2 separate regions of the Homo sapiens genome follow, and region 2 is linked to region 1. Evidence: promoter capture Hi-C in human tissues and cell types (Jung and others, 2019). All regions are on one chromosome and are shown on one strand. The core of a region is centred on a gene start or on the middle of the fragment in contact, and the rest is flanking DNA. Distances in the headings are between cores, read along the strand shown. Region 1 holds the start of GPR148 (G protein-coupled receptor 148). Region 2 overlaps ARHGEF4 (Rho guanine nucleotide exchange factor 4).

Region 1 (6,763 bases), core at 2,593-5,092:
CATTTGTTCCTTAGATTATTTAGAGAGTGATCCTCGTTTTGTCTAGTCTGTTAGTGGTTACCTCATTTCAACTTGCATGCCTAACAAAGTCTTAGATTAATATCTCTACCTTCCTCCTGAAGACTGCTAGACTTTAGAATGCTTTAAGTACAATTACACCTTTCTGACACATATACCACTGTTATGTAATTCTTTTTTTCCATTTTTTCTAAACCGTTAAATTAGACTTTTTTTTTGGAGACAGAGTTTCACTCCTGTTGCCCAGGCTGGAGTGCAATGGCACAACCTTGGCTCACCGCAACCTCCGCCTCCGGGGTTCAAGTGAGTCTCCTGCCTCAGCTTCCCGAGTAGCTGGGATTACAGGCATGCGCCACCATCCCAATACAAAATTTTGTATTTTTAGTAGAAACGGGGTTTCTCCATGTTGGTCAGGCTGGTCTTGAGCTCCCGACCTCAGGTGATGGGCCCCGCCCCGGCCTCCCAAAGTGCTGGGATCACAGGCATTGAGCCACCATGCCGGGCCGAAATTAGACATTTTTATTGCTTTTATGTAGGCAACTAGACAATAACTATTCCTATTTATGTGCATAGTCTCCAGTGACTTTTCTATTTCTTCATACATCTCAAACCTTCCACCTGGAATAATTTTTCTTCTGCAACAAATACATCCCTTGAAGTTTTCTTAATGTGTATTGCTAGGAATACTGTCTTTCAGCTTTTGTGTTCTATCAAGGTCTGGAAAGGTTTTTCTGTATATAAAATTCTAGGAAGACAGTTATTTTCTCAGCACATTGGCAACATTATTCCAGTTGCCAAGGCTTCCATGTTTTTTGTTTGTTTGTTTGTTTTTTGAGATGGGGTCTCGCTCTGTCGCCCAGGCTGGAGTGCAGTGGTGTGATCTCGGCTCACTGCAACCTCCGCCTCCCGGGTTCAAGCGATTCTCCTGCCTCAGCCTCCTAAGTAGCTGACAGCACATGCCACCAGGCCTGGCTAATTATTATTTTTTTTTTTTTTTTGAGACGGAGTCTTGCTCTGTCGCCCAGGCTGGAGTGCAGTGGCGTGATCGCGGCTCACTGAAAGCTCCGTCTCCCGGGTTCACGCCATTCTCCTGCCTCAGCCTCTGGAGTAGCTGGGACTACAGGCGCCCGCCACCAAGCCCGGCTAATTTTTTTTGTATTTTTAGTAGAGACGGGGTTTCACCATGTTGGTCAGGCTGGTCTCTTCCATTGTTTGAGAAGTCAAGGTGAGTTTAATTGATGTTCTTTTGTCTTTTATCTCTGCCTGCTTTAAATATCTTGTCTTTGTATTTAGCTGTTTGCAGTTTCGCATCATGTGCTTCAACGTGGGTTATTGGTCATTTATCTTATTTATGATTGGTTAGATTTCTCGGATCTGAAGTTTGATATCTTTAAACAAATCTGAAAAAATCCTCAGCTGTTATCGCTTCAAATATTTCCCCTCCTACATTTTCTGTATTGTGTTCCCAAATTAAATGTATGTTAGTCTTTTCCATCCCAACCTCAATGTCTCTTAATCTCTCTTTTATATGGTTGTCTCTTTGTCCCTCTGGGCTGCATTTTAGGTAATTTATCTGGACCTCTCTCACAATTTGCAGAGTCTGTTTCCAGTTGTGTCTAACATGCTCTTTAATCCATATTAAATTCAACTCATAATTCTAATATTTTTGTTTCAAGAAGTTCTATTTAAATATTTTCCAAATTTTCTTGGTTATTTAAAAAAAAGTATTATCCCTGCTCATATTTTCATGTCATTATTAATGTCTTAAAACATCTTGAACATTTTTATATTAACCCAGTGTTGATAATTCAAGGAGCTGTGGTATGACGCTGCTGTCTTCTTGTTTCTTCTTGCTCTCATTCATGGTGCCTTATCTCCCTATGTGGTTTTGTGAGATTTGACCATGTGCAACTCCATTATTTGAGGTTCTTTGACTCTGGAAATTCTCTGCAGCCTAAGGTGAAGCTCAGATCGTCCAGGAGAACCACACCAACCACAGACTGAGGTCTTTTTACCACTAACATAATTTGAAGCCTAGCTCTAAAACTGTCTGAAGAGTGGCTTCTACTTAAGAATTCTCGAGGAATTTTCTTCTTCTACACAGCACGAAAGTCAAGGCAGGCAAACTCCCTTGCTGACCCCTTCTGTAAGGTTAGGTTATCATTTACCTTTATTGTGAGAGTGTAACCCTTGCACACTCCAGCTTTATAGTGGTATCTCCATGACACTCTCCACTGCTGTGGATCGTTGGCTTCCTTTCCTCCCTCCCACATCCTGAGCGGCTGCTCAGATAGAGCTCATGGTCCCAGGACTCAGCAGCTCTGCTTGCTTACCTCTGTGGTTCTCACTGTCAGCAACATTTTGGCTTCTGTGTGTTGGTCAGCAAGGATGCATCCACAGTGGCCAGGGAGGGTGTGCAGCAAGCCATTGGAGGGACGCAGATCAAGGCTTGACTTAGACCAGAGCCCTGCTTGATTGCCTTTACTTGCTTCCGTTTCCAAGTAGGATTTCAGTGTCATAAGAGAGCTTTCTCTACTTAAAAACTGTCAAAATGGTGAAAATCATCAGTTGAGGTCTTCTGAAAGGCCCAATTCCACTATTATATTGTGCTGTTCTAAGAAGTTAGTCATAAGTGGACACTGCTGCATTCAACATATGATTTTTAACCTCAGCTTGCCAGACTGTGGACTCAAGAACTCTAGGAAATGGTAAAGATGGCCTGGTGCCTCCTGGATGGGAGGTGGCCCCGGACCATGCCCAACAGCTGCCGGTAGCGGAGCAGGTACAGGTATGTGAGCATGGCACGGGGAAGCATCATGAGTACCTCACTGTTAGCTGCCAGGAGCCATGTGTGAGTCCCAGAGTCAATGTGGTGGTACCTGGTCAGCACCATGTCCAGGGAGAACACCACCCCTGTGCTCACGTACAATGTGATCAGCACTGAGTGGATCAGCAGGGTGCCCCTGGCCCGGGAATAGCCCTGCCCCCAGATGCCTGAAGTCTTGGCCTCTGCATAGATCCTCCAGAAACAGTTGGCAATGAGAGCTGTGCAGAGGAACAGAACGCACAGAATGGAGGTGTAGGTAACAATGACCAGGAGGCCACATCCCGGCTGGGTGCCCATGCTTGGTGGTAGGATGTATGAAGCTCCTTGCTCCTCCAGCTGGGCATCCTGCCACTTGCTGAGCCAAATAAGGAATGTGGGGAAGCAGCAGGCCACCAGCCAGATGAGGGCCACTGCCTTCCAGGCAGCCCCATGGGACATGAAGGAGAGGTAGCGCAGTGGATGGATGACTGCCAGGTAGGTGTGCAGCACAATGGCGGTGAAGGACAGGATGGTGCTGGTGCAGGCGGCGAAGACAGCATCAGTGAGAATGCCACAGGCCATGCGGCCCAGCTCCCAGCCACCCAGGCTGCTGGAGGAGATGAGCATGTGGAGGAGAATGTAGGCCAGGTCTGAGAGCAGGATGTTAGCCGGGAGCAGGTAGTGGGGCTCCTGTCGCAGCCGTTGGTTCCGCAGGATGGTCACCAGCAGCAGGGGGCTGACAGCCAGTGTGGCTGCAGCCAGCAGGCTTGAGGGAAGGAAAAGCCAGTACAGCATGGAGCTGGGCACCCTGAGGTCCCCCAGGCCCAAGGAAGTGTTGCTGGCTGCTTGGGGCATGCAGGGTGTCTTGCTGATGAGCTGGATCAGGGCCGGCCAAGCTGTAGTGCCCACAGGGCAAGGTGCCAGCTCATCCCCCATGCTTCCTGGCAGGGATGGCTGGCTTTGTCACAGGTTGTTGATTCTGCACCTGCCTTGAGTGTTGATCTGCCCCACAGGGGTCCTGATGGCACCACTCCTCTGTAGAGATGCCAGGCTCGGGCAGGCCTTAGGAATGACTGCTTAATAAAGATAAAAAAACCAATGTGAATTCAGACTCACACCTGGCTTCCTGCATTCACATCTCTGCAACTGTGCAGCTGCATGTGCGTGGGTAGACATAACAGATCATCCCACTGCCACCATTTTGCAGTCACTGACCCCTCCAGAAGTGTCCCCTATCTCAGTGGCCCCCAAACCTGTCTGCTTGGCTCACAGGGAGTGTGCAATGGATTCTCACCACACTGGATTATATTCCGGGCTGCCCTCCTAGAAAGGAAGGAGCAGCTGTCTGGAACTAGGATCGCTGGGCTGTAGACCTGGTCTGACCTCTGTCGAGCTAGAGGCTCAGCAAATTGGACCAGGCTGGAGGGGCCTGGGCGCACTCACATTTCCTCACAGAGCCTTGGGTATGGTCTCCAGCTCAGGGTGACCCTGTGCATGCGTGTGAGTGTGACTCCTACACCCCTTCCACTCAGGGCTCCATGTGAGTATTCGGTGCCCCCAAAATCTCAGCTGACTTGTGGGGTCGCTGTGTGGTAGAAACGTCCCTTCCTCTGGGGAGGAGGAGGCCTGGCAGGCAGAGACCTCATAGGAGCTAGTGGGGAGGAATGGAAGGCAGGTTCCCCAGGCACCTGGCTTGTCGGGGGTGGGGTGAGCTCAGTCAGAGCCAGTGGCCAGGGTGGCTGTTGGTGTTTGGGGATCCAGTTCAAGTGAACAAGCTCTCCCGCTCTCTCGAGGTGTTGGCTGCGTGGCCTTGAAAAGCTTTGTTCCAGTTTCCTTATCTGTGAAACACGAATGCCAACCACACTGACCTCAGGGAAACGTTGCGGAAGCCCAGAGGTAAGGGACTCAGCACAGTGCATAGCCTGAAGTAAATGCTGAGTCAATGTTAGCTCTCCCACCTACAGCATCCTCCGAGGCTCGGTCCCCTCTGCCCACAGATCCCTGTCATCACTGCAGAACGGGCTGCACTTGGCTGCTGGCAGCCTGAGACCCCTGCCCAACACCCACCGCCGGCCTGGCAGACTGCTCCAGAAGGCAGGAGCCGCGTGGGAACAGGCAGGATATTTTTAGGGCCAGGAAGAGGCAGAAATTTCAGACTCTGGGTGTGAGACCACGTCCACTGCTGCCCAGGGACCATGCTCGTCACAGCCCGAGACCACGTCCACCGCAGCCCAGGGACCACGCCCAGAACCGCCCCTGACCACGTCCGCCGCAGCCCGGGGACCACGCCCGCCGCAGCCCGGGGCCACGCCCACCACAGCCCCGGACCACCATCATCGCAGCCCTGGGACCACGCCCTCCATAGCCCAAGGCCACGCCCATCACAGCCAAAGACCACGCCCAGAACAGCCCCGGACCACGCCCGCCGCAGCCCGGAACCGCGTCCTCCTCTGAGAGCCTGTTACGCAGCTGCCAGGAGCAGCAGCGCCTGCGCCTTTTTGGCCGATTACGGTACAGAAACTAAAGGTGGTTCTGAGAAAGCCCATCACCCCTTCCAGAGAAACCGCGATGCCATGGGGCGGACCCCGCCTCCCTGCCCCAGCTGCCCTGGCCTGCACTCCCTAGGGGCCCCTTGTACTTTACAGATGCTCTGACCGGTCTAATCGGCCCCAGGCCGGGAGAGGCAGCAGAGCCATTCGCAGGCCACGCTCTCTGCGCGGGTGCCCTGTGTGCTGCAGGGCTGAGGGCCAAGGCCGAGCCTCTCTCTGCTGTCCAGCCCAGCACAACGACCCTCGCCGGCCTTTGGGGTCTTAGAATGCAGATTCCCTGGGAGAGGGAAACTCGTTAAATGACAATCCCTCAGTAAAAATGTGGTTGTGAGCTAAATCCTTATAGCCGGTGACGGGGTGACAAGCAGCAACTTCATGGAATCGGAAAGCGCGAAACTCCCAAGGTGAAAAAGCCGCTGGGATGATACAGAGCCTGCCTCCTGCTGAGAATCATCTTAGGAATTAAATAGCCCATACAACAATCTCAGAGCACCGAGCGGGTGCTGCCCCTAAGGGAACATCAGTTTGGTCTCACTTGCCGAGGTTCCCTATCCAGGCTGCCCTCCTGGGAAAATGCAGTCCGGGGCCCTAGGGAGTGCAGCCCAGGGCGCGGGGACAGGGAGGCGGGGTCCGCCCTATGGCATCGCGGTTTCTCCGAAAGGGAAGATGGGCTTTCTCAGAACCACCCTTAGTTTCTACACTGTAATCAACCCCAGATGTGGGGTCACCCAGTGCCAGCTCTGGGGTCACAGAGCTGGCCTCCCTGGTTAGGACCCTGCAGCCTTTAACTCCTTTGCCCCGTTCCTGTAATCATTATGGGTCAGGACGGGCCTGCTGGCCTTGGGTGCAGACGCGGGGTGGGTGTGCAGCACAGGCTAGTGAATCTGAACATAACTTTGGAAGTTGAATCTCAGCCATCCGTGGCCCTTCAAGAGCCTGGGGATGCTGGAGTGTCCCTGCCCTCTAGGAAGGTGGAGGTAAACTGAGGCTGTAGGCGTGCCTAATGCAAACATGTTTAAACCACAGAATGGACATGCTCCTGGGTCCTCCGGCTGAGATGAGGTAACAGTGACCACCCACAGCCTCATCGTGGAGCACCTTCTGTGCAGGCACTGAGCACACTCACAGAAATGACATGCTGCTCTGTGGGAAACTGAAGCCCAGGGAGGTTAAGTGCCCTGCCTAAGGTCACCTTTTGAGAGAGTTCAGTGTTAGTAAGAAGCCATCTTTTGGCGGGGAGCGGTGGCTCACGCCTGTAATCCCAGCACTTTGCACTTTGGGAGGCCGAGACAGGCAGATCACCTGAGGTCAGGAGTTTGAAACCAGCCTGATCAACATGGAGAAACCCTGTCTCTACTAAAAATACAAAAATTAGCTGGGCGTGGTGGCA
Region 2 (7,281 bases), core at 3,121-5,620, 280 kb before region 1:
AAGTGAGAATGATGACAAATGGAAATTCTGATCTTCAAGATAAAATGATAAGCACCAGAAGTGTTAAACTGTGGGTATGTACAACACACTATTTTAAAATTAATTTCTTTAAAAATACATAGCAATTTAAAGCAAAAATCATAACATTATATTGTGGGGCTTATAGTACATGTAGATGAGCATATAAATGACAGCTCTATCCATAAAACAGGAAAGGGATAAATGAAATTATACATATGCAAGATTCTTACATTTTATATAAAGTGGTAAATATTACTTTTAGTAGACTATGAAAAGATATATATATACACATGTATATATAAAATAATCTTCAGAGCAACCATTATAAAATAACATAAAGGAATAGTGATAAGCCAATAATAAAGATAGGATTTTTTTAAAAAAGATCCAATTAATCCAAAACAAAACAGAAAAGGAGAAAAGGAGTAACACAAAGAACATGTGACAAAAAAAGAGGAAAATGACCAATGTAAGCCCAACTATATCAATAATCACATTAAAAGTTAATGGACTAAATACTCCATTTAAAAGAAAGAGACTGTTGTGATGGTAATGTTCTATTTCTTGATCTGGATGTTGGTTGCATGAGAATATCTACTTTGTGAAAATTCATCAAAACATACATTTATTATTGGTGCACTTTTATGCATGTGTATTATACTTCAAGAAAAGTTTTACAAAGAACAAATATGTTGATCCAATTGTTCTATTTTTAGGGTTTTATCCTAAGAAAACAAGTACTCAGAAAAGCACACAAGTATGTATTTACAAGTATATTGATTCCAGCATTGATTCTAATAGAAAAATATTACAGACAAACAAATTGAACATTATTAGGGGACTACTAAAATAAATTAAGGTACATTTATATAATGAAACACCATGTAGCCAATTCAAAAGAATAATTTAGGGGCCAGGTGTGGTGGCTCATGCGTGTAATCTTGACACTTTGGGAGCCTGAGGCTGGTGGATTACCTGAGGTCAGGAGTTCGAGACTAGCCTGGCCAACATGGCGAAACCCTGTCTCTACTAAAAATACAAAAATTAGCTGGGCGGGGTGGTGGGTGCCTGTAATCACAGCTACTTGGGAGGCTGAGGCAATGAGAATCACTTGAACCTGGGAAGCGGAGGTTGCAGTGAGCTGAGATCGTGCCATTGCACTCCAGCCCGGGGGATAGGGCGAGACTCTGTCTCCAAAAAAAAAAAAAAAAAAAAAAAAAAAAGAAAAGAAAAGAATAATTTAGCTTTATATTTATCAAAACTAAAGTCACTAAAAGCATATTATTAAATTAAAAAGTAGCTTACAAACCAGTATATAGAGTGTGATCTTATTTATGAAAAAATAATAAAAAGACAAACAATGAAAAGGCATAGATATACAAAAGGTTGCATACGAAATAGTTAACAGTATCTATTTTTGGATGGTAGGATTTCAGGTGAATTTAACTCTAATTATTTTCTGTTATGTTGGATTTGCCAAGATGAATATATTAGCTTCACAATCAGAAAAAGCAACAAACACGTTTATATTTTAAAATAATATCTGTGAAGAATGAATAAAAAAGAGGAAAATACCCTAGCCTATAAAAAGTAAGGAGAGCTTAAAAACTTGAGTGAAAAAGTAATAACTATCTATTTGAAGGTACCAGAAAGATATTAAAGAAAGAGGAAACTGCAGGGCTATGATGGAGGAGAGGAGAGGACAGGGACATAAATTCAGCATTTGGGCCACTTTCCCCTTAAGCACTGGCTGACTCCAGTCACAAGGATAGAGAAGCTGGAGGCTCCTTGGAATAGACACAGAGGCTGGGGACAGTCAGGGATCATAATGGTGCCCACCATCTAGAGTGAAGACATCTTCCACATAGAGGACTGAGAACATAGTAGGTCCATAAATTAATGTCACAGCAGTCTCCATGACAAACGCCTTTACTCTTTGCTGGATCCCTTCAATTAGAATTTCTTCTGCAATTTCACTGTAATTTCCTACACCCTATGCCTTGTATTTTGGTGGAAGATGTATGTCATTGTGACAGCCTTGCCTCAATCTTAAGCCACAGGGTGACCAATTTTACCTACAGTCCACCTCCCAATCCCTTACAAGTACCCAACTGTGTTCAGCAGGACCACCTGGCCTACTTTTGGCCCCATTTTATCCTTCGGACTTAGCCAATGACTTGGCCTTTTGCTTCCCTTCATGACTTGGACTTGGTCTTTCAGCCTCTCTTCAGACCAACTCCCCGCACCTAGGTGTTGGTACTTTGGTGGGTGGCCTCACCTAATCTGCTCTTTGCTTAACAGTCCCACTCCCCAGTCCAGGCAAGACCAGAGGGATAGGGCACAGAACCCCAAAAGCATAAAAGATGCCTAGGTAAGTGCTAAGATTCTACTCTGGAAGGATTTCCTGTTTGGGAAAATGGTGAGAATCTAGCATTAAAATGCAAATTAGCTCCCCATTCCCTAACTAGTGAATAGTAGACAAACGGCTCCTGGATGGCATTCCCTAATGGCTGACAGTCCCTCATCATCTTCTCAGTGACTGACAGCCAGCCAGCTCCTGGGCCGCTGCTAAGGCCCTGGGCCATGTGACTCCCACGGGCAGGGATGCATGTATTATTTTCCTATTGCTGCTGAAACAAATTACCCTGCATTTAGAGGCTTAACAGCACATACATTTGTTATCTGTTTCTGTAGGTCAAAGGGCTGGGCACAGTGTGGCTCAGTGGGTTCTCTGCTTGGAGTCACAGAGAGCCTAAATTAAGGTGTCATCGCGGCTGTGTCCCTTTCTGGAGGCTCTGCGGCTGAATCAACTCGCAGTCTCATTCAGATTACAGGCAGATGTAGTTCCAGAGTGCTGTCGGACTGAGGTCCCTGGGTGGCTGAATTGCCTTGTGATGCCCAGGGGCTATTACCATCTTCCAAGGATGACCAATGGCGGGGAACAGGTCTCCTCCCCACAATGGTGGGTTGAGTTCCTTCTCTTTCAATCTCTCTTAGCTCCTCTCCTGGCTTCTTCGGCTGCTTTTAAGGGCTCATATGATTATGCTGGACCTACCCAGATAATCCAGAACTATCTCCCTATGTTAAGGTCAGCTCATTAGCAACCTCAGTCCTATCTGCAAAGTCCCTTGCAGGAAGTTCCTAGATTTGTGTCTGGCTAACCAGTGGGCAGAGGTTTTGGGAGCATCCTGAGAATTCTGTCTACTACAGACACACCTTCCAGACCTTTTGCCGGGAAGCTGCCCAGCACCACGGGTCCCTGTGGTCCACGGCGCATCTCCCCCCAGTGCCCACACAGCCTGGCCCCTGGGGCGCTGGGCACTCCCGCCCCTCCCCTCCCACCTGAGGACACAGGCCAGCTCCCCTGCATCTTCTGCACGCTGCGGGGTACGTGGCCAAGCCCCTGGGACTGGGAAGACTAGGGCAGCCTGGGAAGCATCTCCAGGGTCCCAGCTTTTCTTAACATATAGAAATCTCACTCACAGATCTCAGATGCAAGTAAATGACCCCCAGAGGCGCACTTCAACACAGAACAGGACTGGGCAGTCTCCCATGTCAGGAGAAAGCTGGGACTTGGAGCCCCATGGGAGCCTGAGGACGGCAGGGAGTGGCTGTTGTGGGAGGGCCCTGCTGCTGGAGGGCAGCCCTGTGTGGGACACCCCATGTCATCGGTAGCTCACCGGGGAGGGCTTACCCTGGCTGCACTTCCCGATTTCTACCTGGATGTGAGGAATGAGGCCGAGCCCTCTTCAGGCTGCTGCTGTGTCCCTCACAGGACACAGTCAAGTCAGCTCTGCCCCCAGAGCGTGACAGATATCAGCCCACTGCTGACTGCGGATGGCTTCCAGCCCCATCCTCTTCCTCTCTTGCCCCATAACTGCAAAATCAATGCAAACCCCAGGCGAGGGGTGGCAGGACTCTCACCCTGGCTCCCTCCTCACCACCATACAGCCCTCAGCCATACTCAGCCACCCAGGGCCCCCTTTGCTGCAGCTGTTCCAGCTGGGCTGCAGTCTGCCCTGCTCTCACAGAAAGCCCCAGGGCACCAACCACAAGCTTTCCCCACCCTCCTGGTGTGTGTGTGGTGTTATCCTTCTCCACATCCAAACCAAACTTTGGAGGAGGGAATGGGGTTGCTCCTGTACCTGCCATGGGGCAGCCACAAAGCCACCTGCAAGCTATTTGCCCACACCAGACACTGGAGTAAATAAAACAGCAGAGATGTGGTTGCCAGAAGGGTTCAGCCAAAGTGTGTTGTGTCCCCAGGGCAGACTATTCTTCATCCTCTCCATCATTCACAGAGATCTGGACCTGAGTTCTGTGAGGCCGGGGTGGGACAGAGACACCACACCCTAGAAAGAGGGCTGAGGATGGCAGGCGCTCACGGCCGGGTCAGGCCTGGAAGGACCATCGAGGCCGGGCTGTGTGACAAGGAGGGCCGCACTCTGCCACCAAGTGGGCTTGGCCACCCATTCACCTCCCAGTGGCTGTCTCCTTACTTTGAGGAAAAGACAATTAGGGAGTGAAATACTTCCGAATGTGGTTTAAAAAACAGAGAGGGCTGGGTGCGGTGGCTCACGCCTGTAATCCCAGCACTTTGGGAGGCCAAGGCAGGGGGATCATGAAGTCAGGTGATTGAGACCATCCTGGCTAACACGGTTAAACCCCGTCTCTACTAAAAATACAAAAAATTAGACAAGCATGGTGGCGGGGGCCTGTAGTCCCAGCTACTCGGGAAGCTGAGGCAGGAGAATGGCATGAACCCTGGAGGTGGAGCTTGCAGTGAGTCGAGATCGTGCCATTGCACTCCAGCCCGAGCGACAGAGTGAGACTCCGTCTCAAAAAAACCCCAAAACAAAACAAAACACACCAACTAACAGAGATTCCTTGATTCCATAGGCATATGGAAGGCCTGCACCACACTGGCCCAGCTTCCTCCCTTTCTTATCTTTCCCAGAGGTGGGTCTGGTGTCCCCAGGGTGTGCAGGGGCTCTATGTAGGGAGTGAAGATCCTCCTATCCCCATCTCTCCCAACCAAAGATGCTCCTTTGGCTGCTGAAGGCTTAGGATTTTTTTAAAAGTCCTGTTTCGGTGAAAACTTGTGAAGGGTCCCTGTATAAATATTTCCAGGTCGTTATTACCCAGTTACCCTAGTTAAGTTCTTTCTAATTAAGCCCATCGATTTCAGAAAAGCCTACTTCCCAGAAGACTGATCTGAAGTCATTAGCTGACTGACATATCTAGGCTATGTTGTCAGATGTCATCTTTGCCCTGGCATTTCTGCATTTCAGGCTCGGTCTAGCAACTGCCATCACATACTATCCAAAGCAAGGCAGACTAAATGAGAGATCAGAAAGGATTATCCCTATCTTAACAGGAGTGTCACTCAGGCTGACCTCACGTACTGCGGGGCCATCTTCTTCCTCATTGACAGGCAAGTATGGACAGAGAAGCTTCCAGATTTTCACCCACCTGTCCACAGGCAACTCAGCCTGGTGCATCTAGGGACCCAGTGAATTGTGCCTTCCCATCAACTGGTGCTTACTAAGGGTCTCTGCCTTGGCCAGAACTCTGCTTAAAGAAGCTTCAGGGAATACTGCAGAAATGACGAGAGATGCGTGTCACGATCAAGAAGGAAGAAACTGGAATCCACTGAGTGGTCATCATGTGCCAGGAGCATTCATGTAGATCATTTCACTTCATACAGAAACAGTGTGGAACAGGAATGGCCATTGTTTTATAAATCAGGAACTGAGGTGCAGAGGGGGTGTGTCTTACGGCATGACCTGGACCTCTGGGTACAGAGTGCGTGCGGGATGGTCCTCCATTCCCCTGGCCTCGTCATGGCTCAGTGCTTTAGAGAGTTGATGCCTGAGGTAGAACAGCGAATGCCCCATCGTCAAGGTCACTGTTACTAACGCTGTTCATACCAGAGGCACTGCGGGACCTCCCAGAGCAGGGATCTTTGCTTGTTGCCCTCTTGTCCGAACAGTCCCTATCCTAGTGTCTTGCACAAAGTTGGGGTGCAAAAATATCTATTCAGCAAATGTAGTAATTAAAAGCCATCCCTGTTTATTCATTAAAACAGTTCCCTTTAGGTGACTACTTACAAAACCATAGGGCTAGGGTGCTCATTCTATGAACTCAGAAGTGTAAACCAACAATGTTGAAAAACTAATATAGGAAGCCGACCAACAGTTCATTCAGACTGTCCGTTCCAGCAGCGGAGGCTGATTTTACAAAGAGCAGTGAGCTCTCCTTCACCCCCAGCCCCCACAACCCTTTTTTTTTTTTTTTTTTTTTTTTTTTTTTTTGAGACGGAGTCTCGCTCTGTCGCCCAGGCTGGAGTGCAGTGGTGCGATCTCGGCTCACTGCAAGCTCCGCCTCCCGGGTTCACGACATTCTCCTGCTTCAGCCTCTGAAGTAGCTAGGACTACAGGTGCCTGCCAACACGCCCAGCTAATTTTTTGTATTTTTAGTAGAGATGGGGTTTCACTGTGTTAGCCAGGACGGTCTCGATCTCCTGACCTCGTGATCCGCCCGCCTCGGCCTCCCAAAGTGCTGGAATTACAGGCGTGAGCCACTACGCCCAGCTAATTTTTTTGTATTTTTAGTAGATGGGGTTTCACCGTGTTAGCCAGGATGGTCTCGATCTCCTGACCTCGTGATCTGCCTGCCTCGGCCTCCCAAAGTGCTGGGATTACAGGCATGAGCCACCGCGCCCGGCCCCTCACAGCTTTTTAAGTGTCTAATTCCAGGAGTAAAGAGATTAGCTACATATTAATCTTTTCAAAAATTATTTTGAGCATTAAAGCTTTTAAATTTTTAAACATTTTAAAGTCGGCAAGCTCCATGAAGACAGGGCATTGCGTGCACCTTGTTTACCACTGTACTCCAAGCATCCAGAACAGAGCCCTGCAGCCAGTAGATTCTCAGTAAGTATTTGTTCAATAAACGTAAACTAAACATACAAAAAAGTACAGAAAATAGAAAAGAAAGTATTCCGACGTAGCCATCCCAGAGATTAAACAAATGCCAGCATTTTGGCATATTTATTGCTTATCTCCCAAAATATTACCAGTGGAGCTGAAGCCTTGCCCCTCATGTTACCTCCCTAGCTTCCTCTCCAGAGGCAAATCTCTGTGCTTAAATTGTTCTGTACTATTCTCATGCATTTTCTATAATCTTACTAAATATGCACATATCCTAAGGTGTACTGTTATGTACTATTATTTGTGTCTTGTAGATTTACACAAATAT

The links. Contacts are between HindIII fragments. The study calls those that stand out against the background at their distance.
Region 2: a fragment that was not itself captured here is called in contact with the fragment with the promoter of GPR148 in region 1 in 3 of the 25 tissues and cell types used here (H1 embryonic stem cells, bladder and dorsolateral prefrontal cortex).

Annotation. Positions count from the first base shown.
Region 1 is chr2:130,726,149-130,732,911 of GRCh38, reverse strand. GPR148 (G protein-coupled receptor 148) reads right to left here and starts at 3,842. Exons shown (of 1, transcript NM_207364.2): 1 at 2,576-3,842. The coding sequence starts at 3,760. The coding sequence ends at 2,717. RefSeq lists enhancers at 4,113-4,691, 4,692-5,271, 5,593-6,120 and a silencer at 5,040-5,209. The HindIII fragment of the contact is 13,856 bases long and covers 1-6,763 here.
Region 2 is chr2:131,001,764-131,009,044 of GRCh38, reverse strand. The region is part of intron 4 of ARHGEF4 (Rho guanine nucleotide exchange factor 4); the gene reads right to left. Among named protein-coding and RNA genes, the nearest start is that of SMIM39, 30 kb to the left of the region's middle. The HindIII fragment of the contact is 6,362 bases long and covers 1,190-7,281 here.